Regions from separate parts of the Homo sapiens genome. Here region 2 is linked to region 1. The links are contacts of gene promoters, found by promoter capture Hi-C in blood cells and fetal thymus (Javierre and others, 2016). All regions are on one chromosome and are shown on one strand. Each heading gives the region's core, a stretch centred on a gene start or on the middle of the fragment in contact. The rest is flanking DNA. Distances are from core to core; before and after follow the strand shown. Region 1 holds the start of CYP26B1 (cytochrome P450 family 26 subfamily B member 1). Region 2 overlaps DYSF (dysferlin).

Region 1 (4,205 bases), core at 1,141-3,640:
CCCTGCCGTGCAGCCCTTCTAGACGGCGTCTACCCCTTTAAGAAAAATCTAGGCGGAGGTGGGGTGCGACAGAAGGGGTGGTGAGGCGAGGGTTTCCCTCCCTCCGTCTGCTATACCCGTCTCCCTCGCTCCGTCTCACTCTCCGTCTTTCCTCTCCTTCTTTTCCTCTGTTTTTCTTTTCTTTCAACACAAAAGTTGGGTTGTGAATTTTCCGAGGTCGCCGCCGCCTCGCCCCCACCCCCCGCCTCTGATCTGCCTAACTATAATTAAAGTGCGTTTTTTGTGGCATTAATAAAGAGTTATTTGTCCGCCGTTTCCACGGTCTTCACAAAGAGTACTTTCATAGGGGCGGCCGCTCGGGCCGCGAGTCCAATTTATACAAAAATGTTGTATTTTTAGCCCTGGGCTCTGTTTAGATGGCGCTCGGTGGAAACGGAGAGCCCTTGGAGGTCCCCCCGTAAAATCTGATAAATGACTCCGAAAAAATAACGCTGGGATTCAGAGGGCTCTCATTAACCCCTTAGGCGCTCCTGTACACGTACCCCCTATTTCCCTCCTCACCTCCAGATCTAGGGCCCCGGGTTGGAGGGATGGGGAGGCTTAGGTTTCCTCCTCCCTAACTTCTGTGCAGGTTGGACGCTGACCCCCAGGGGCTCTTGTGGGATTCGGAGAAAAGGTCATGGGGACCTGAGGGGGGGCAGAGAGGTCAGGAAACGAAGTGGGGGTGGGTGGTGACAGACCGTGGATTCAGCAGACTGGCTCTAAAAGGCGGGAGCCGTTGCCCAAGTTATTTTATTTCCTAAATTCGCGGCCCAAAGCCTAGAGCACCGCTGCAGTTGACACTTTAAGTGTGGTGGCGAGGGAAAGGCTCTGGGGATTTCTTTGCGGGGGGTGGGGGGGTGATACATCCATTGGTTGAAAGGACCCCCACCTCATTGCACGAACAACCCCAAAAAGAGATGGGCCTAATCCGGGACGTGGAAAGACCACAGGGCAGAGGAACTTCGAACCCCCTCCCCGCCCCCGCTCCGCTGTCACTCGTCCCGGGGCAGGGTGAGTGCGTGTGTGCGCGAGCGCGCGGATTGCACGCGTCTGTTAATTTCAAGCCAAGCTTTCGCACCTGTAAACCCACAGGTCGCAGCGCTCACCTTTCGCTTCACCTCTCTAGTGCGGGGATTGTCAGTTTCAGGACATCCCTGCTTCCCCTAACAGAACAAACGCGCGTACACACAAATACACCTCCCGCAGTTACTGCAGAGGCGCTCCGCTCCCCCACCCCAAGAAGAAAACCGGTGTGTATCACATTGCAAAAGCGATTGTCTGGCACTTGATGAGGTGAACTCCAGGTTAATCTCCCCATTACCTACCTGGGTCTGGTCCCTGACGCGCCTCACCCCCGTTATCACCAGCAGAGTGGGGTTGTGCGGCATCTAACAAGCACACACGCACTCTCTCTCTATGGATCCCACACTCACCTCTCCCAAGTTTCCCTCTCCTGCCAAACTGTCCCCACCCAATAAGTAAATAGACCCTTTTCCCCGAAAGCCTAGAGCCCTGGATTCTCATTTTTCCTTGGGTTACCTTCTTCCTCTTCCACCACAAAACAGACACACTCGCGCGGACCGCGGACCAGGGACACTGTACCTGGCGCTGCCGACGGCGCCGCAGGAACACAGTTTTAAATCGGCAATTCAAGCTGCCACCAGCCCCCTCCTCTCCCGACTCAATTTTCGGCTCCCAGCGACACAGCCAACCCCAGAAAGCCGAGGGCGACTGGGGGCTTGCAGCACCGAGGGGAGGCGAAAGCGGCTCAGGACCGGACCCTCCCCCGGGACCGCGCCTCGCTAGGCGCCCCCGGGGCGCTCCACGCCCCCTGCCAGGCCAGCCGCGACCCAGGCAAGTCCATCTTGGGAGCCCCCTCAGGTCCGGGAACCCCTCTTACCAGCCCCCTGAACCTGCGCCGCGGGCGCCAGTGGTCCCGGAACCGCGCTGCCGGCGGGCTGGGGAAGCCCGGGCTGCTGCGGCAGAGAGGAGGGAAGGGGCGGGGCGGGGACCAGTGCCTTCAGGCTCCCGGCGCCCCCTGGCCGGCCCGCCGCTCCGTCTGCCCCGCGCTCGCAGCTAGCGGACCCCGGAGTGCAGCGGAGCGAGCGCGCCCTTACCTGCAGCAGCCAGTGGCCGGTCTCTCCGATGAGCGGGAAGCCCATGGATCCCTTGGGGATGGGCAGCTTGCAGCTCTTGTCGCGAGTGGCGGCCCAGCGCAGCTGCCACAGCTGCTGCGACACGGCCAGCAGCAGCGTCACGGACACCAGGCACGCGGCGAGGGTGGCCAGCGCCGACACCAGATCCAAGCCCTCAAAGAGCATGTTGGCGGCCGCTCGGGGGATTGGCTGTGCCGGCCGCGGCGGGGGAGGGGAGGGCCCGACGGGAGGGGACCGGAGCGGCGGGGGAGGGGAGGCTGCGGCCGGGGGTCCTGGCACCTCCAGCCGAAACAGAGAAGGAGGAAGGGGCCAAGGGAAAGGGAGTGGAGGCTGCGAGGGGAGCGGAGAGAGGGAGGAAAAAAATTGCCTAAAAGAAGAGAGGAAACACGAGGCGACTGGGGTGCAACTTTGTTTGTTTGTTTGTTTGTTTGTTCCTTTATAGCGGGCTTAGGGGCTGCTCAAGGGGTGGTGAGATGAAGCCGTGAGTCAAGCTGGTGGGTTTGCTCTCCCCGCTACCATCACACTCGGAAAACTTTGGAAAACTTTGTCCAGAGGGAGCCTCTCTCTCGTAAGCCCCTTCCCCTGCTCGGAAAAAAAGAAGGGGGCAGAGAGCTAGCAGAGAGAAAGTGCGGTCGATTTGTCAAAAGTATTGCAGTATGGCCCCAAAATTCCTAGGTGAAAAAAAGAAAAAAAGAAAAAATTCCTGAATCCAAAAATTCCAACGAACCCAGAAACTTTGGGGGCGAGGGAGAAAGCTCCCTGGCTGAGGCGAGTGGAGAGGCCGGAGCCTAAAAGTCCCTGGGCTGCCCGGGGCGGCGCGCTCGAGCCCCAGAGCCGCCGCAGCACCCCCGAGGCAGGAGCGGCGGGCGAGGCGGCGAGGCGGGCGCTGCGGCCCGAGCGCGGGTGCGGAGCCGGCGGGCCGCGGCCGGGACGGGACGCAGCCGGCGACAGAGCCCCGGGCGGGCGATGGGGCGGCGGCGGCGGCGGCGGCGGCGGCGGCGGCGGCAGCGGGCGGGAGGGGTGAGGCGGGGTGGGGTTGGGGGAGGAGGTGGAAAACCCGAGCTGGGCTATTGTATCAATTAAGAAAAGGCAGTCCGTCCCGGGACGCGGTCTCTCGGCTCTGGAGTTGCTGCTGGGGGAAGAAATGGGGAAAAAAGAAAGGAAGGCAAAAGGAATGAAAGAGGGGGAAAAGCAGGAGGCAGGATTTCAGGGCTGGTGGTTTTAAAAGCTTCTCTCAATGTGAATTTGAGTCCAAAGCGAGGCGATGCGTGTGTTTATATAGAGGCGGGAGGCTGCGCCGTGGGCGCCCCGCCAGCACCCCCCCGCCCCAACCCGCGCGCTCACAAAGCCGGAGGCGTGGTGAGAGGCCGGGCCCGCGGCCGGAGCTGGAGAGCGCAGCCCGGCCTCCCGCCCCGCCCCGGCCGCCCGCCGCCCGCCGCCCGCAGCCCGCCCGGGACCCACTTGTAGCCGCCGCAGGATCAAACTCAGTTCACCTCTCGCCTCCTCTTCTTTCTCGCCGGCGTCTCGCTGAGCCCAGCGCCTACAGACGGACGAGATGAGACACACGCGCGCGCACCTACGCGCACACACACACAACACACACGCGCACACACACAACACACACACCTCCGCACACACGGTGCGCACTCGCTTAGTGCCTGCTTGGCTTCTAGGCTCCTTCCCTTCCTCTTTTCCTCCTTCCCAGGTCAGCGGTCCCCTCCTCCAGCTCCGAGCAGTCCCTCCTGGGCCGAAGCCCCGGCAGCGGAGGTCCTGGCCGGACTGCCCCCTCGACTGGCAGGCGCCCAAAGCCCTCGAAACTGTGCCTTAGGGTCCCGAGCTTCCAACCCCCGGGATCCCGCTGGCTCTTATCTCCAGGGACCCCTGAGTTACCAGTCCCAATCCCCCTAAGCCAGATCCCCCATTCCCGATCCCTATATCCTCACACCTCCGATGCTAAGGTCCGCCCCCGCCATATGTCTCTTACCCTACGGAACCTGGAGGTTCTCC
Region 2 (4,031 bases), core at 1-2,500, 620 kb before region 1:
AGCTGCCTCTCAGCTCCATTCCAATGTCCTCTGGGCCTGGTCTGGCAATATTTGGCCACTCTGTGGACCCATTTTCTTAGTTCTCATTGAGAAGTCAGCACCATCTGGACTCTATTCTGGCCTTAGGGCTGGCTCTCACTGATTTTCCCTCCCTCTGTGAGGAAGCCCGTCCTGCTAGTGGCAGAGCTGGGCTGGGGAGCAGTTGCTCTAATGTTGGAAGGGTTTGCATGAAGGACTCCTGGGCCCCACTGTCTTCACAGATGAAGGACACAGATCCACAAGGTGACCCACCATCCTAGCTTGCCTGAGACTGTCCTGGTTTTAGCACTGAAAGTGCCTGTTCCAGGAAACCCTGCAGTCTCCAGCAAACTGGGACAGTGGGCACCCGACTTGCAACCATCTCTTCCTCCCAGGAAGGCCAATGTGGCCACTGCCTGGTTTCTCACAGTGGTTGGCCCGATACTAGACCCATCTGTGTGTTTAGTAAATGCTGGGGAGTTATACCGAATATTCTAGAGCTCTGGTTATCAACCTGGGCTGATAGTAGAATTCCCTGGGAAGATTCAAAACGGTCCAAATGCCGGGGCCCCACCTCCAGCGTTTTAGATTGACTCGAGTTAGGGCAGGGCTCAGCATTGGTAGGGTTTAAAGGCTCCCCAGGTTGTTCTGTGGTGAGGCCCCGCTGTGAGCCACTATTTTAAAGCATGCATTAACACAACCAAGCCACTGTCCACAGCAGAGTCAGTGAGAAGGTTTGCAACTTGGGTCCCTGGTTACAACTTTTCCATAAAGGTAACTATTTGAGAGTTTCTGCTTCGGCTGCTGACGTCAAGAAATGAAATGTACAAGCTTACTTAGATCAAATCCTGAAGAAAGCCTGTAAATAAGTAATGGGTATTAATTCAGTACTAAAACACATGCTTAAAAATATTCTGCACTTATTGATTGCAACTAGAAGTGAGGCTGGTGAACTTCAAGAGGGGCATGGGGAAATAGAAATGTTTGCTTTTCTTAAGGTGAAAGAGCTTTGTGTTGAATTCCCTGCAACGTTGTTTGAAAAAAACAAAATAGATGGGCAAACAGATCATAAATGTTTGCTAATTGTTGTTGCCTTTTGTATTCATGTAGTTATTAGCTAGCGTATAATCTTTATCCCCCTCCACTTACTTACCCACTCATATGTCTGTAAACATAACATGCTTTATACACATATGTATGTGTATACACATAAACATATCTATCTATCTGTATCTACATATATAAATAATCTGGCTGATTCAAAAAATAATGGTTTGGGGCAGCATAGATTAAAAACTCTTAAAAAAAAAACAACAGAATTGACTTCTTGGTTAACCTCAGGTAAATCGCTGCGCTAATAGATTTAAAGGAAAATGTCAACCAGGCACCAATAATGGGATATTGTTATAACAACTGCCAGTCCTTTTCTGAGTACTTACTGCCCTTAGTGATGTAGATTTCTAATTAGTCAGGCAGGTAGATTTGATCTGAAAGGCTTTGAATGCAGGGTGGGGACAGTGAACTGAGCTGTTTGGGACTGGTGACAAAGTGGCCCGGAGCTCTCAGGAGTTGCTGCTCTGAGACAGTCCTCCTTCTGGGGAGCCCCTGGGCTGAGTCCCTGTGTGAAGGGGCCAAAGCTTCTTGCTCAGGTAGTCCCAGGACTGCCTGGAGACAGATGGGGGACAGTCAGGGTTTTAGAGGAGAGACAGCAGGCAGGCAGTGACTGGTGTGTCCCTCTTCCCAGTGGACGATGCCGTGATGGACAACGTGAAACAGATCTTTGGCTTCGAGAGTAACAAGAAGAACTTGGTGGACCCCTTTGTGGAGGTCAGCTTTGCGGGGAAAATGGTAAGGAGCAAGGGAGCAGGAGGGTTCTCTCGGGAGGGGACTTTCTGGTGCCCTGTGGACTGTGCCGGGTGAGAGCAAGACAGAGTGAGATGCCCCCACCAGAGGTGTGTGCACAAGGAGTGGCTGATCCTGGTGCGTGGTGAGACACCCACATAGGCCCAGCTCTCAGGGACTGCCCCGCACACGAATGTGGACAGGTCTGCCTGGGGGTGTCCCAGACAGACACATAGATGTGGATGGCCCAGGAGAGGACGTTGGATGGTGGATAGTAGAGGAACATTTGGGGGAAAATGGAGCAATAGCATGGAAACCAGACATGAAGGCATAAAGATAGAGAAACTATATTTTAAAGATGTGGGAGAAAAACATAATGGTTATTTAAAAAATGTTGTGGGGGTAGTTGGGCAGAGAAAGGCCCCTCTGGTGGGCACCCTAGCCTCTTCCTTGCAGCCCACCTTCCTGCCCTGAGGCGGGACTGTGGCTCCAGTCCCTGCTGACTTCTGTCCCAGCCCTTCTCTCCACACAGGCTGCCCACCCCCCAGTGTCTGTGCACCCCCCACAGGCTTTCCTGGCAGCCCCAGCCCTCCCAGGCTTCAGCCATCACCTCTCTGCAGAGAACTCCGTAGCTCTCCGAACCCTCCCTTCAACCCCAGGCCTCTCTGTGCCTCTAAACAGTTCCGCCTGCTGCCCCTCTGAGCCCTGGAGGGAGTCATTTTCTCTGCACAAACTGCCCCATATCCAAAAGCCTCTGTCTTAACCAGGTACAACCATCAAAGGCAGAAAATGTGGACCTGCCTTGATTCTTCCTTCTTTTTTCTCTCTCCACATCCCACATGCTATCTCTAGCTTTTGACTTTAAACTTGTCCCCAGGGCCCATCCCTACCTCGTGCCCCCACAGCCACTGCTAGCTCTTTCCAGGAGCATTCCCTTGTCTCTCAACTCATGGCATTGAATTTTTGAACAGCCCAGGCCATTTGTCCAAGTACTGGATTTGTTCGATTGTTTCCTTCTGTTGTTTAACTTGTTTCTCTGACTCCTCTCTTTCCTGTAAACTGGAAGTTAGGTCTAGAGACTCCATTAGATTCAGATGAAGTATTTCGGCAAGAACTCAGAGTAGTTGATGTTCTGCATGTCATATGGCATCACAACAGAGAGCCATAATGTCAGGTTGTCCCATCATTAGGGATGATCGCCTGATCACACAGTTAAAATGGTGCCTCCAGACAGCTCCCTTATAAATCTTCCCACTTTGTAATTAGCAAGTAAACTGTGGGTGATATCTTGGCACTGTACGGATGTCCTACTTCTCAGCTACCTCTTATCTAATGGTCTAAGCATCCATTGACCTTCCTGTCTGAAGAAGTCATTTAGTTGGGACTGCAAAGTGGTGATTTTCTCATTATCATTCTTTTTCTCTTGATTAGCCAACATTTTTTTCTGTAAAGAAGAGCTTTCTCCCTCCGCTTCGTTGAGTATTAGTATGGACCTCAATACTTTTTATTTCTAATGTTAAATCAGTCATTATTGTGTTGATGTATGAATTATACTGAAGGTGGCCATCAGGAGCCCCTTTGAGCTGGGCTCTCTCTCCTCAGAGACTAGCACAGGGTCCCAGTGAAAATGTACACGGGGATGTAATGCAGATTTTAAACTCGTTCATGTGGAGGTGTAAATGCTTACTGCAGATCCTCACCTGAGTGCAGGTTTTGGTGTAGACTCAGGGTCCAGGTCTTACGCCCTGCGCCTGGCATCAGGAGGAATGGGGACAGCTGCTTGAAGGTAGGAAGGAAACAGGAAGCTGCGGCTGTACGTTTTTGTGGGACACTAGCTCCAAGGACTAGGATTAATTCTTCCACTTGACACTTGGGGGAATTCACGTCCTGAGATTGTTCTTATTTCGCATTCCCAACATGGAAGGTATTTCGATGGTGGCTAGAACCAAGACCGACATGCCTTCACATTCATTGGAACTAAGCCTCAGAGCTCCGGGGCTCCGGGCTGCTCCTGGGTCCCTGCCAGCATCTTTGATCTCCCTGGGTCTTCTGTTCTGAGATGCCCTTGGCTGGCCCTGGGGATTTCTTTAGGAAGGTACCAGTGTCTAGGGGGAGGTGAAAGGACAAAGGCAGCCAAGGCAAGGCACTGTATACAGTAGATTGGCATCTGG

Evidence for each region. Contacts are between HindIII fragments. The CHiCAGO score rates a contact against its expected background, and 5 or more counts as called.
Region 2: a contact is called between a fragment that was not itself captured here and the fragment with the promoter of CYP26B1 in region 1, in 5 of 17 cell types (M0 macrophages, megakaryocytes, M1 macrophages and 2 more). The highest score is 9.3, in M0 macrophages.

The regions. Positions count from the first base shown.
Region 1 is chr2:72,145,472-72,149,676 of GRCh38, forward strand. CYP26B1 (cytochrome P450 family 26 subfamily B member 1) reads right to left here and starts at 2,391. Exons shown (of 6, transcript NM_019885.4): 1 at 2,160-2,391. The coding sequence starts at 2,363. RefSeq lists enhancers at 1,067-1,589, 1,779-2,280. The HindIII fragment of the contact is 2,315 bases long and covers 1,110-3,424 here.
Region 2 is chr2:71,526,536-71,530,566 of GRCh38, forward strand. It overlaps DYSF (dysferlin), which reads left to right. Exons shown (of 56, transcript NM_001130987.2): 14 at 1,763-1,866. Among named protein-coding and RNA genes, the nearest start is that of DYSF, 62 kb to the left of the region's middle. RefSeq lists an enhancer at 1,219-1,737. The HindIII fragment of the contact is 806 bases long and covers 848-1,653 here.